Regions from separate parts of the Homo sapiens genome. Here all the other regions are linked to region 1. Evidence: promoter capture Hi-C in human tissues and cell types (Jung and others, 2019). All regions are on one chromosome and are shown on one strand. The core of a region is centred on a gene start or on the middle of the fragment in contact, and the rest is flanking DNA. Distances in the headings are between cores, read along the strand shown. Region 1 holds the start of PRIMA1 (proline rich membrane anchor 1). Region 2 has its middle 53 kb from the start of PRIMA1. Region 3 overlaps PRIMA1 (proline rich membrane anchor 1).

Region 1 (3,736 bases), core at 183-2,682:
CCCTCTCTGACCCTAAGAGGTAACTCCAGTTAGTGGCTGCCTGGCCTCTGCCCTGGGATTTAAGGGACCCAGGGTGAGAGATTCAACCCTGGGCAGTCCTGACAGATGGGCCACCATGCATTATCTGTCTACATCCTCAACTCTGATACCTATAAGAAACACGGCTGCCTTCCGTGTTGAAAACCAGTTTAAGAAAGCTAATTTGAAGTTCATCAGTGGTTCTGGTGAGAAAGAAATAATATATATCCTTGGGATCATTTTTCTTTGTAAGTTTGTTTCTTTGCTGAATTTCTGCCCTAGAATGTTATCATTGGAAGGTATTCTCTGAGCCCCTTTCCATTCCAAGGCCAGCCCGGTCCTGCAGGATTTAGGCCACAATCGAAGCCTCTCTTTGGAGTTTCTTATCTTTTCAGGGGTAGGGTATAGGGGACCGTAGCAGCTTTTCTTTTCCCAAGCTCTTCCGAGAACCAATCAGTGGGGTGGCTGCAAGAGGCCAGGGTCTCAGGAGGGAAGGGACAGCTCGCCCCTTACCCAGGAGGCCCTCCCAGCCAGTGCGCAGCCGGCGCGTCTCACCTGCACGAAGCCCCAGAGCGGGTGGAGCGCGCAGTGCAGCAGCAGCGAGGACCAGCAGCAGCCACGGCGCAGCACCAAGTCCCGGAGGAGCATCTCGGCCAGCGGCGCCCGCTCCTGGGGCGAACTGTCAGGAGAGCAAGGCTAGGGTCAGGCGGACACCGCGCAGGCACTTCCGCCGCCGCGCACCAATATACCTCCCAGCCCGGGTCGGACGGGCACGCCCCGCACCCAGGGGCACCCTAGTAAACCAAGCCTGCACTTACACTCCAGCTTACACCTTCACTGACTCTTCGTCAGTCCCAGAATTCACACTCTTCTTACGCACATCCCCAGAGCCCCGCGTGTACACTTTAGCTCCGCGCACAGCTCCAGAATACTGCGTGCATACCTTGGCCCCATGGACACCTCCAGAAACAGCCAAGCACACTTACTGCGCCCCATTAACCCCCATACAACTCACTCTCACTGTGAGCACACTTCAAACCCGGCGGGCACTACTCACCTGCGCGCACAACCACAGAAACAGCCGTGCACACACACTGATCCCCGTGCACACCCACCGACTCCTGCCTGCACCCTCGCTGACCCTGCATGCACGGCCCCAAGAAATCTCACGCTGCCTGCACCCACACTGCCCAGCCGGCCTCATTGCGCACACTGCAACATAGGCACCTCCGTGCGCTGCCCCTTTGCACGCCTCCGCCCAGCCCCGATCTCCCGCTCCCGGGCGTGGGTTCCCCCACGCCTCCATCTCCGCCCGCACCCTTCCAACGCCTCACGCTACCTTGCCTGGCGGCGGCCCCAGCCGACCCTGGGCTCGGGGAAAAGAGGTCCGCGTTCCCCCCGCGGCAGCTCTGTTTCCCAGCAGCCGGACAGCCCCCATTTAAAGCCAGCCGCCTCCCCAGTCCCCCGCCCTCTAGGCGGGGCCTCCGTCCTCACCTTGGCGGCTGCGCGGGCGCCCGGGGGCTTCACATGCCGGGGAGGAGCGCCCGGCGCTGGAGCAAAAGTTTGCGCGCCGGTTGGGCCTCCCGGGCCGCTGAGCAGAGGACCAGGAGCGGCGTCCTCGCACGGGGCGCAGGGCGCGGTGGCTCCGGACTGCGCCTAGCCGCGCGCGGGGCGGGAGGGGCGGCACCCCGCTCCCAGGGCCAGGGCTGGCCGCCGAGGCGGAGGCAGAGGGCGGGGAAAGTCTCCTCCACGCCGCCTGGAGCCGGCCGCGCGAGCCCTCCCCGGGCCCGCGTTGGCTCCCCGCCTTTCCTGGTGGCGCCGCGCGGCTGCCCGGGGCACTGGGGTGCCCGAGCTCTCTACTACCCTCACGCTGGCCCGCGAGAGGCAGCGGCGGGAGGCGCCGGCAGGGAGCTCCCGCTGGGGCAGCAAAGCCGTGGGTGGAGGCGAAATAAATAATCCACGAAAAAGGAAAACAGACGTGAGCCGAGCCAGAGCCTCTCCCGCCTCCCGCCCGGGGTTGCGCTCCCCCCGCCGCCGCCGCCAGCGCCGCTGCAGTGATTCCTCGTCTCCATCTAGCGAGGCTATTGTGTATTGGGCGCTTAATTATTTATTCACCCTGGAGGCCGAGGATTCCCACTTCCATGGGGTTTTGGCCCTTGCCTGCGCTTCCCCCAAGCCTCTCCCGAGGCTGCGGAAAGGTGGCGAGGACTGACTTGAGACCCTTTTTTGCGCTCCATCCTTGAGGACTCTCCCCGCCGCACTCCCCGCAGGCTCTCCCGGGCGCCGGGGCTGAAAGGTGCAGGCCGCCCCTCTCCCGGCCATGGGCCTTGTCCTCTCCTTTGTAGTCCCAGCAGCAGAAACTCTCTTGCAACACTAGGCTGCGGCTGGGAAGGAGTTGTGACGGCCCTGGGGAGAACATTTCTACCACTGCTCTTCCTCAACCATCTGCAAACTCCTCTGTTTGAGGCAAGATTATCAACAAGTCGGTTCTTCGGGAGGTAGCCTGGTTGCATCTCTTTCAGACAAGCTGTGCCTAGCAGCATCACAGGCATGGCGCGGCCTCTCTGCTCTTGTGGTGGAAGCACTTTGCAAGCGCTTTGACTGATGGGGGCGCCTTCCAGAAGGCCCTCAAGGCCTGGACAATCCTATTTTTAGGTTGGATGAGAGAACCAGGGGCTTAAGACACAGAGCTGAGGGTCAGATACTACAGTGCATGCATGGAAGAAACATTTACTGAGCACCTTTTCCCGGTATTTGGACACCCTTAAGCCACTCATGTAAACACACACTATAAACGCTGGTTTGCAGAGTATAAACTACCTTGCAAGCCAGCTTTCAGAACAACGTCTTAGCGGCCTCCTTCATGCCAGAGCGCCGCCCCGAGGCTGCAGATTGCACCTCAACCAGCAAGATGCAGGGACAAATGTGAATGAGACCTTGTTCCTTCCCCCCTAAGAATTCAGGGGCCTGTCAGGGAGATGGATAAAACCAACCATTCCACTGTGCACTGGCATGTCACACACAGCTGCCCCGAGAAAGGGGAAGACAGGAATGGAGGGCGGGTTGAGTAAAGGCTCCCAGGAGAGGGTGACTTCCTGGGAGTAGGGGAACATCTCAAGCATTGGTAACTCTTTGTGCAAAGAAATGGAGACATTTATTCAATCCTTCATTCCTTCATTCCATATGTAGCCTCCATGGGCACCTGCTGGGGGCCAGACAGAACTCTGGATGCTGGGTAGAAAAGGGAACAAGAGGATATCTCACTGGGGGTGGGATAGGATGGAGGGAGGATGGCAAGAAGATGAAGGGGTAGGGACTTCCTAGGTGACTCATCTACAGTTTGGAGAAATGGAGCAGCTATTGGTCAGCTGAGGTCAAAATAACACTGGATATTTTAATGCCTGTCCGGCTAAAACAAGTCGTGGTATTTTGCTCAGCACAATCTTTACATTTGACAACAGCTCCTGATGTTTACACATGGAGCTCATTGCCACTTACAAATGTTATTTACACCGCATTTTAATTCAGGTCTCACAACTCTTTGATGTAAGTGTAATTGCCCTGTGTGAACAGTTCAGAGACCTTTGTGCCTGAGCCAGAATCACACAGCGGCTCACTGGGGGTTCAGAAATACTAACCCCCAACTAGAGGCTCACGACGTTGGGAGAACTTAGGTAAGTTTTGTGCATTGGAAAACCTGCATTGTCTAATCTGGTCT
Region 2 (3,736 bases), core at 616-3,115, 53 kb after region 1:
TAAAAATCAAAGAAATGCAAAGCAAATCAAAGTATAATTTTTTCCTGTCAAACTGAAAACAAAATTTAAAATCATAACCTTCAGTGTTATTGAGATTTAGGAACTGGCATTTCCATGGCCTGCTGGTGTCAGTGTAAGTTGATCGAGCCTTTCTGGAAGACAATGGAAGAATGCATATCAAAAGCCTTCAGGACAGTTGTTTATTTGTTGCCTCTCATCTTCATACCTCCTGCCCACACCATTTCTGTTCGGTAATGCAGGGGCTAGAAGTCTGCAAACTTCATTTTCCAGATACCTTGCTGGCTTCCAGTTTGCTAATGGGAGGCAATGGTGGAGATTGAATGGTGAGAGGAGGGGAGAAGGGACTCTGTTTTGATTTCTGACTGAGGTCTGCATCCCTCCAGCAGCAGCCATGCCACCTGCACCCCAAGCACCAGGCATGTGGTGCTGCCTCAGAGGTCAGTGCCCTCCTCTCAGATGTCTGAGCGTGGCCGCAGGCGCCCCCTGAGAGTTCCAAGCACAGATCTTGCAGTGTCCTGCCCTGAAGGTCTGAGCATGAGCCTTAGGGAGCCTCCTCCTTCACATGCCTAAGTTCTGGACGCTCCATGTCTTTTTTTCTTTTTTCCCCCAAACCTGGGAATGGCAGCTCCTTCTTGCAATTATTAATCTCTGGGTTACCTCTTCATCTTTTGCTTTCTATCTTGTCTCTTCTCTCTCTCTGTCTCTCACCCAGGCTGGAGTGTAGTGATGTGATCTTGGCTCACTGCAGCCTCGGCTTCCCAGGCTCAGGTGATCCTCTCGCCTCCTGAGTAGCTGGGACTACAGGCAAGCGCCACCACACCTGACTAATTTTGTTTTAAATTATTATTATTTTTAGTAGAGACTGGGTTTCACTATGTTGCCCAGGCTGGTCTCAAACTCCTGTACTCAAGCAATTCGCCTGCTTTGGCCTCCCAGAGTTCTGGGATTACAGGTGTGAGCCACGACACCCAGCCTACTTTGCATCTTCTCAACACCTGCACAGTCAATTCCGTATATTAAATCCTCTCTCTTTGAAAAGACCTCTGATTTTCCTTTTCCTGGCCAAATTCTGGCTGATGATACAGTCTGTATCTAGAAATTCTACTTCTAGGAACTTATTTTAAGAAAACAATCATGGATGTGTTAAAAAAAAATGTGACCTAATTTATTAATAGCAAAAATGTCAACCAAAATACCCTAAAAGCCTGACAATGTGAGTAAGTTTTGGGTTTGTGTCCCCCAAATGGATATGTTGAAGTTCTAACCTCTAAAGCTTCAGAATGTGAACTTATTTGGAATTAGAGTCACTGCAGACATAATTACTTAAGATGAGGTTGTACTAGAGTAGCATAGAACCTTAATCCAATATGACTAGTGTCCTTATAAGAATTGAAGAAGGCCAGGCACAGTGGCTCATGTCTGAAATCCCAGCACTTTGGGAGGCCAAGGCAGGAGGATTGCTTGAGACCAGGAGCTTCAGACCAGCGTGGGCAACATAGCAAAACCCCATCTCGACAAAAATACAAAAATTAGCCAGGCATCGTGGCGTGTGCCTGTAATCCCAGCTACTCAGGAGGCTGAGATGGGAGGATCACCTGAGGCTACAGTGAGCCATGATGGCGCCACTGCACTCCAGCCTGAGTGACAGAGTAAGACCCTGTCTCCCCTCCCTCTCACCCCCCCCCAAAAAAAAAAATTGGAGAAAGAAACACAGAGACACACAGAGAAGACAGTCACGAGATGATAGAGGCAGAGACTGAAATTATGCCGCCATGAGCCAAGGATGGCTGGCAACCCCAGAAGCTAGGGGAGTGACATGCTTGGAACAGATTCTCCTTTTGAGCCCCCAGAAGGAACCAATCCTTGATTTTGAACTGCTGGCCTCCAGAACTGCAAGAAAACGCATTTTTTTCTTTTGTAAGCCACCCAGTTTGCAGTGCTTTGTTATGGTAGCCCTAGAAAACTGATACAATGAGATGGGTTAAATAAATTATCCTATAGTCACATGATGGAAAACATAGCAATGATGAAAATACGAAACAATATTGTGGAAAAATGTATGATAATATCAAACGACGTTCATGACGTGTTATGGTAAAAAATAAGACTACACAATTTGAGCCCATTTTTGTAAATCAAAAAAAAAAACAAAACAAAACCACCTATATGGTGAACAACAACAACAACAAACTTGAAAGTTTACACCTCAAATCACAACAATAGTTACATGGGCAGGCGGGAAGTATTGTGCATGATTTCTATTTTCTTTCTTTTGATTATCTTTGTTTCTAAATTTTGTACACCGAGCACAGTTCATTTTTGAACATGGTTTTTTAAAAAGTGCTTTTAGTCTTAGCATTTTCTCTGATTCTTGCAAGGACCTTATGAGGGACTCAGCAGTTCTTGTTACACTTAATGTCCTATGGAGAAACTGAACCCCGCAGAGAGGGGTCAGGGAAAGGTACTTCCTTCCCATGCCATGATCAGAAGTTGAAAGAGAACTTGTTCAAATAAGAGTGGCAGCATTCCTTTCTCTCCTTGAGACCAAGCTCCATCCAGGACGTCTGGAGAGCAAACTGAGTAGATGTGAGTATCCATGATAAATTACCAAAGATGTCATGGGAGAAACCATATAAATCTCTTGGTTATTTTTAGCACCCTCTGTTTCCACTGACTAACTCCACAGGACCTTAGGCAGCTTCCCAGGGACACTATTTTGTTACTTATTTATAATTTATTTTACATTTATGTTGTATTTTTATAAGATTTTCAAACATACAAAAGTAGAGAGAAGAGTAAGCTGCCCTGAGCCCAGCACCCAGCTTCAACAACCATCAAAATTTTGCCATGCCAGCTTTATCCCTACCTTACCCTCAGTTTCCCCTAGAGTATTTCAAAGCAAATTGCAAACTTGATGTCATTGCACTCATAAATACTTCCATGTGCGTCTCAAAAAAGAGGGGAGTGTGTGGATATTTTCTTATTTAACCTCCATGTTATTATCACATCTAACAAAATTAATTATAATTCCCTAATATGGCCTGGTACTGAGTCCATAGTCAAATTTCTACTGGGGCCTTATTTGGGCTCACCTCATTGTCATAAACATCCAGCATTAAACCACGAAGGGGGTGGCGCTTCCCAAATCTCTGAGAGGTTTGTCTTGCTGACATTGCTCTTTCCTGGGGCATGGGGTTGAGTGATGGGTCTGTGATTGGAGAAAGGGCAGGTAGAAGATAGATGCTGCACAATTTGTAGAAAGAGAACTTCAAGAGAATGCTCTGACTCTGCTGTGTGACTTGAGCATGCTACTTATACTCTCTGTGCTGCTATTTCTGCTTCTATGAAGTGTGGAAAATAACCAAAGCCAGTGATTTACCTGTTTATCCACAGGCCCTTTTCCTGCCTTTCCCCATCATGTCTAGAGGGCAGCTTGAGGACCAGAGCTGTGCCCTGAGGACAGCCCTGGGAAGGGATGTGGAAGATCGGGGTTCTCGCTGATGTTGTTGGTCCGCTGAGCTTACCGACCCTGGGACCACCTGCCTTGGACTTCCTGTTTTGAGGTGCAAATGTGTTCTCCAATGGAAAAGAGTCAAAATCTGTAAAATGTTAGGTTTATTCTGAGCCAAATATGAGTGCCTGGGGCCCAAGACACAGAGTTAAGAGGTCCTGACAACATTTGCCCAAGGTTATTGGGTTACAGCTTGATTTTATA
Region 3 (3,736 bases), core at 440-2,939, 38 kb before region 1:
CAGGCCTTCTGTTCCCACCAGGGCTGCAGACGCACGGCTGCGCAGAAGGTCCGCATACTTGCCAGCTTTAGGGCAGCCCAGTGCCTTTGAGAAGCAACGAGAGGGGGCCACATGCAGAACTGTGCCCACCCACCCTCGCTGCCTTGATGACTCCTCCTCATTCAGCTGCGAATCCACTCACTGATTCGCTCAATACACATCTGTTAAGAGCCTGCTGTGTGCCATGCACCATGCTAGCACTGGGGACAGGATGGACCCTGTCCTCATGACGCTTATAATCTACTGGAAATTGGACATTCATTAAATCATCACCAAGTAAATGCAGACTGATTCCCAGCTCACCGAGACACTTAACTACATGTGACTTTGGTAACAACAACAGGAAGCTGACAAACAAAAATGAGAATGACTTGACATGGAGAGCCAGTGTGAGCTGACTGAACGTAATGAGCTCATCTTTGCTTGTGAGAGCTCGTGACCTTGGGAAGGGAGAATGCTCCCAATGGTATATATTAAACGCCCAGCAGAGCCCCAGCACCTAGTTGATGCTCAATAGATTGCTTTCTCTCATGGGGGCACTTAATTAACAGGTGATGAGGCTGGGTGCAGTGGCTCACACCTGTAATCCCAGCACTTTGGGAGGCCAAGGCAGGAGGATAGCTTGAGCCCAGGAGTCTGTGACCAGCCTGGGCAACATAGCAAGACAGAAAGTTAAAAAATTAGCTGGGATAAGTAAGCTGGGTGCAGTGGCTCATGCCTGTAATCCCAGCATTTTGGGAGGCCTAGGCGGGCAGATCACCCAAGGTCAGGAGTTCGAGACCAGCCTAGCTAATATGGTGAAACCCTATCTCTACTAAAAATACAAAAAAGTAGCCAGGTATGGTGGCACATGCCTGTAGTCCCTGCTACTTGGGAGGCTGAGGCAGGAGAAACAGAATCGCTTGAGCCCGGGAGGCAGAGGTTGCAGTGTGCCGAGATCGTGCCACTGCACCGTAGCCTGGGAGATACAGTGAGACTCCGTCTAAAAAAAAAAATTTGCTGGGATAGTGAGACAAAAAATAGTGCGACAAAAAATTTTAAAATTATCTGGGCATGGTGCTGCACACCTGTAGTCCCAGCTACTTGGGACTTGCACTGGGAGGCTGAGGCAAGAGGATGGCTTGAGCCCAGGAGTTTGAGGCTGCAGTGAGCTATGATGATGCCACTGCATTCTAGCCTGGGTGACAGAGCAAGACCCTGTCTCAAAACAAACATGACGGGGCCCTCATGAATGCTTCATCAGGTAGAACGTGCTCTGTCTAATTTGTTGTAATCACTTTGCAGAGGGGTTCAGGGTCAACTTAGACCAGTGGTTGACACTGATCTGAAGGCCAAATCTGGCCCACCACCTGTTTTATAAATAAAGTTTTACTGAAACACAGACACACCTATTTGTTTACACCTTGTCCATGGAAGTCTGTATGGCCTGCAGAGCCTAAGATACACTATCTCGCCTTTTACAGAAAGTTTTTTTACCCCTAATTTAGAGGAGTCTTAACCTGAGATTCTTAGACAAGCTTAGAAGAGTGGTCTGAAAGTGTCCTGAAATTATACCACAAATTTGTATTTTGCAAGTAAACAACCCACTCCTTCCGTATTATTTTTAGAAAGGCCCTTTACCCCAAATGTCACACCAAGGCCTAGGTGGAAGTCTCTGGGCATGGGGCACAGGGCTCCATCTTGCCTCGGAGTTTTCATGGTGACAATGTGGTCAGAAAGCAAAGCACAGCAGAAAGACAGGCACAAATTTGGATCCTGACTTGGCCACACCATACCCACTAAGAAACCCCCAGACAAAGCACTTACATTTTACAAGCCTCAGTTTCCCATCGTCAAAGGGTGACAACATTCCCTGGAAGGCTCGGGGGAGCTGCTTCCCACCTGCTGGCCGGGACGCAGGGACTCTGCTCTGGAGGCAGAAAAGCGTCACCTGAAGCTACACGTCTGACTTTTCGGGCACCTGCAGCCCTTCTTCAGGGTCTGCACTAGGGCTGCCAGGGTGGCTATGCACAAGGTGGGGAGCCCAGGAAGTGAAGTCCCATGCCCTGCAGAGCATCCTCCACCAGTAACTGACAGGTGCTAAGTGTGACAGCCTGGCTGGGGACAACTATAGGCTGAAATTGCCTTTGCAGGACTTGGCCTGAGATGGTGCTTTCACTCGGCTTCCCCCCTGCTCCACCCTACCACTTCCGTTGCCTCCTCAGTCTCTCCTGGGGAGCACTTCATTTAAAAATTCTTGCGTTAGGGTCTGAGGACAGGTTCCACATCAGGAACCCCAGACATGAGGTTACCAAGATGCTGAAAGCTCCTGGCCTCCTTCTAAAGCATCAAACAAGAGATGAAATTATATCCCAATGAGATGCATGTGAACTTTCCACATTCTAGATGACTCCTTCCCAGGACCACCCTTTGCTAGTCTCTGGACAGAGCCTAAGTCCTGTTTAAAAGGGTCCTGTAGGGTTAAGCTAAGAATGATTTGAGTCCAAGTTGGGACCAAAAAGGGATGATGACACGGCTGAGAAGAATCACTGCTGCTCAGTTGGTCTTTGTTAAAAAAGGAATAAACCTGAAATGTCTGTGGCTCTGGGACAAAACCATACGTAGTATTGAAGAAAACAATATCCGTATTGACAGTCCAGAGCTGTGTTGTCTAATACAGTAGCCACCAGCCACATGTGGCTACTTAAATTTAAACTCCTTAAAATTAGATACATCAAGAATTCAGTTCCTCTGTTGCACTGGCCATATTTTAAGTGCTCAATAGCTACACGTGGTTAATGGCTACTATTTCGCACAGCACAGACCTAGATCATTTCCACCATCGCAGAAAGTGTATTGGGCCGTCCAGAGTGTTGGGAGGTGGGATGCTCGCTTCTCTTTCCAGAAAGGCAGCCAGGAGCCGTTTTCTTACCCTACTGAAAGCAAATGGAGACAGCCACCCGGATCCTGCCAGTGCTACCTACTTTCAAAGCACATTTTCCTTAGATTCTTTTATTTGATTCTCAGATCCCTCCCCCTCAAACAGGCAAGGCAGGTATCATTAGAACTATTTATAGATAAGGAAACTGAGGGTTCCGAAGGTCAAAGAAGCAAAGTCACAGAGCTGCGAGTAAAGTCACAGTCAGGGCTTGGGAGACCGCAGGAGGGAGACCCCCCCGCCCCCGGCAAGCCAACGCTCTGCTGAGCTGGAAACATGCCAGGTCATATTCCAACCCCACGCGGGGCCCCTCACTCCCTCTCTCTTTCAGCAGCCACGTGGCTTGTTGAGTGGAACACCTGAATCTAAAAAGTACTAAGTACTCACTATATCTTCCTGAAAATAACAAGCAGAGGGCTGCCCCGGCTCCAGCCTCCTCAATGGGCAGTTGGGCCACTGTGGTGAAACAGGGCCAGGCCCCAGGCCCACGAGAACTCCACCAGTGCAATATCCAAAGACAATTTCTGTGACGCTGGCTTGTCCAAGGATAGGGCACACCGAGACTTGGGCAGGTTTGGCAGCCAGCTCCTGCCTGGAAATTGAGTTCTCTGTCTGGACAAGCAGCCCAGTCTGAAGATCCGGGGCACGCAACCTGGGTTATGGCACTGTCATCGAAGCCCTTTGGACATCTGCAAGTCACTTCACCTCTCTGGACATCAAATGCCCATCTGCCCAATGGGAGTGGTGACCTTGGGCTAGGGCAGGGATCCTCAACATCGA

The links. The method cuts DNA at HindIII sites, captures the fragments that hold promoters and counts their contacts. A contact is called where the count stands out against the background at its distance.
Region 2: a contact is called between a fragment that was not itself captured here and the fragment with the promoter of PRIMA1 in region 1, in 2 of the 25 tissues and cell types used here (spleen and thymus).
Region 3: a fragment that was not itself captured here is called in contact with the fragment with the promoter of PRIMA1 in region 1 in 1 of the 25 tissues and cell types used here (dorsolateral prefrontal cortex).

What each region holds. Positions count from the first base shown.
Region 1 is chr14:93,787,053-93,790,788 of GRCh38, forward strand. It overlaps PRIMA1 (proline rich membrane anchor 1), which reads right to left and starts at 1,433. Exons shown (of 5, transcript NM_178013.4): 1 at 1,358-1,433; 2 at 574-697. The coding sequence starts at 666. RefSeq lists enhancers at 799-1,510, 1,511-2,224, 2,225-2,936. The HindIII fragment of the contact is 12,037 bases long and covers 1-3,736 here.
Region 2 is chr14:93,839,987-93,843,722 of GRCh38, forward strand. No RefSeq gene overlaps it. Among named protein-coding and RNA genes, the nearest start is that of PRIMA1, 53 kb to the left of the region's middle. RefSeq lists an enhancer at 1-422. The HindIII fragment of the contact is 6,425 bases long and covers 1-3,736 here.
Region 3 is chr14:93,749,164-93,752,899 of GRCh38, forward strand. The region is part of intron 3 of PRIMA1 (proline rich membrane anchor 1); the gene reads right to left. Among named protein-coding and RNA genes, the nearest start is that of PRIMA1, 37 kb to the right of the region's middle. RefSeq lists an enhancer at 1-477. The HindIII fragment of the contact is 8,916 bases long and covers 1-3,736 here.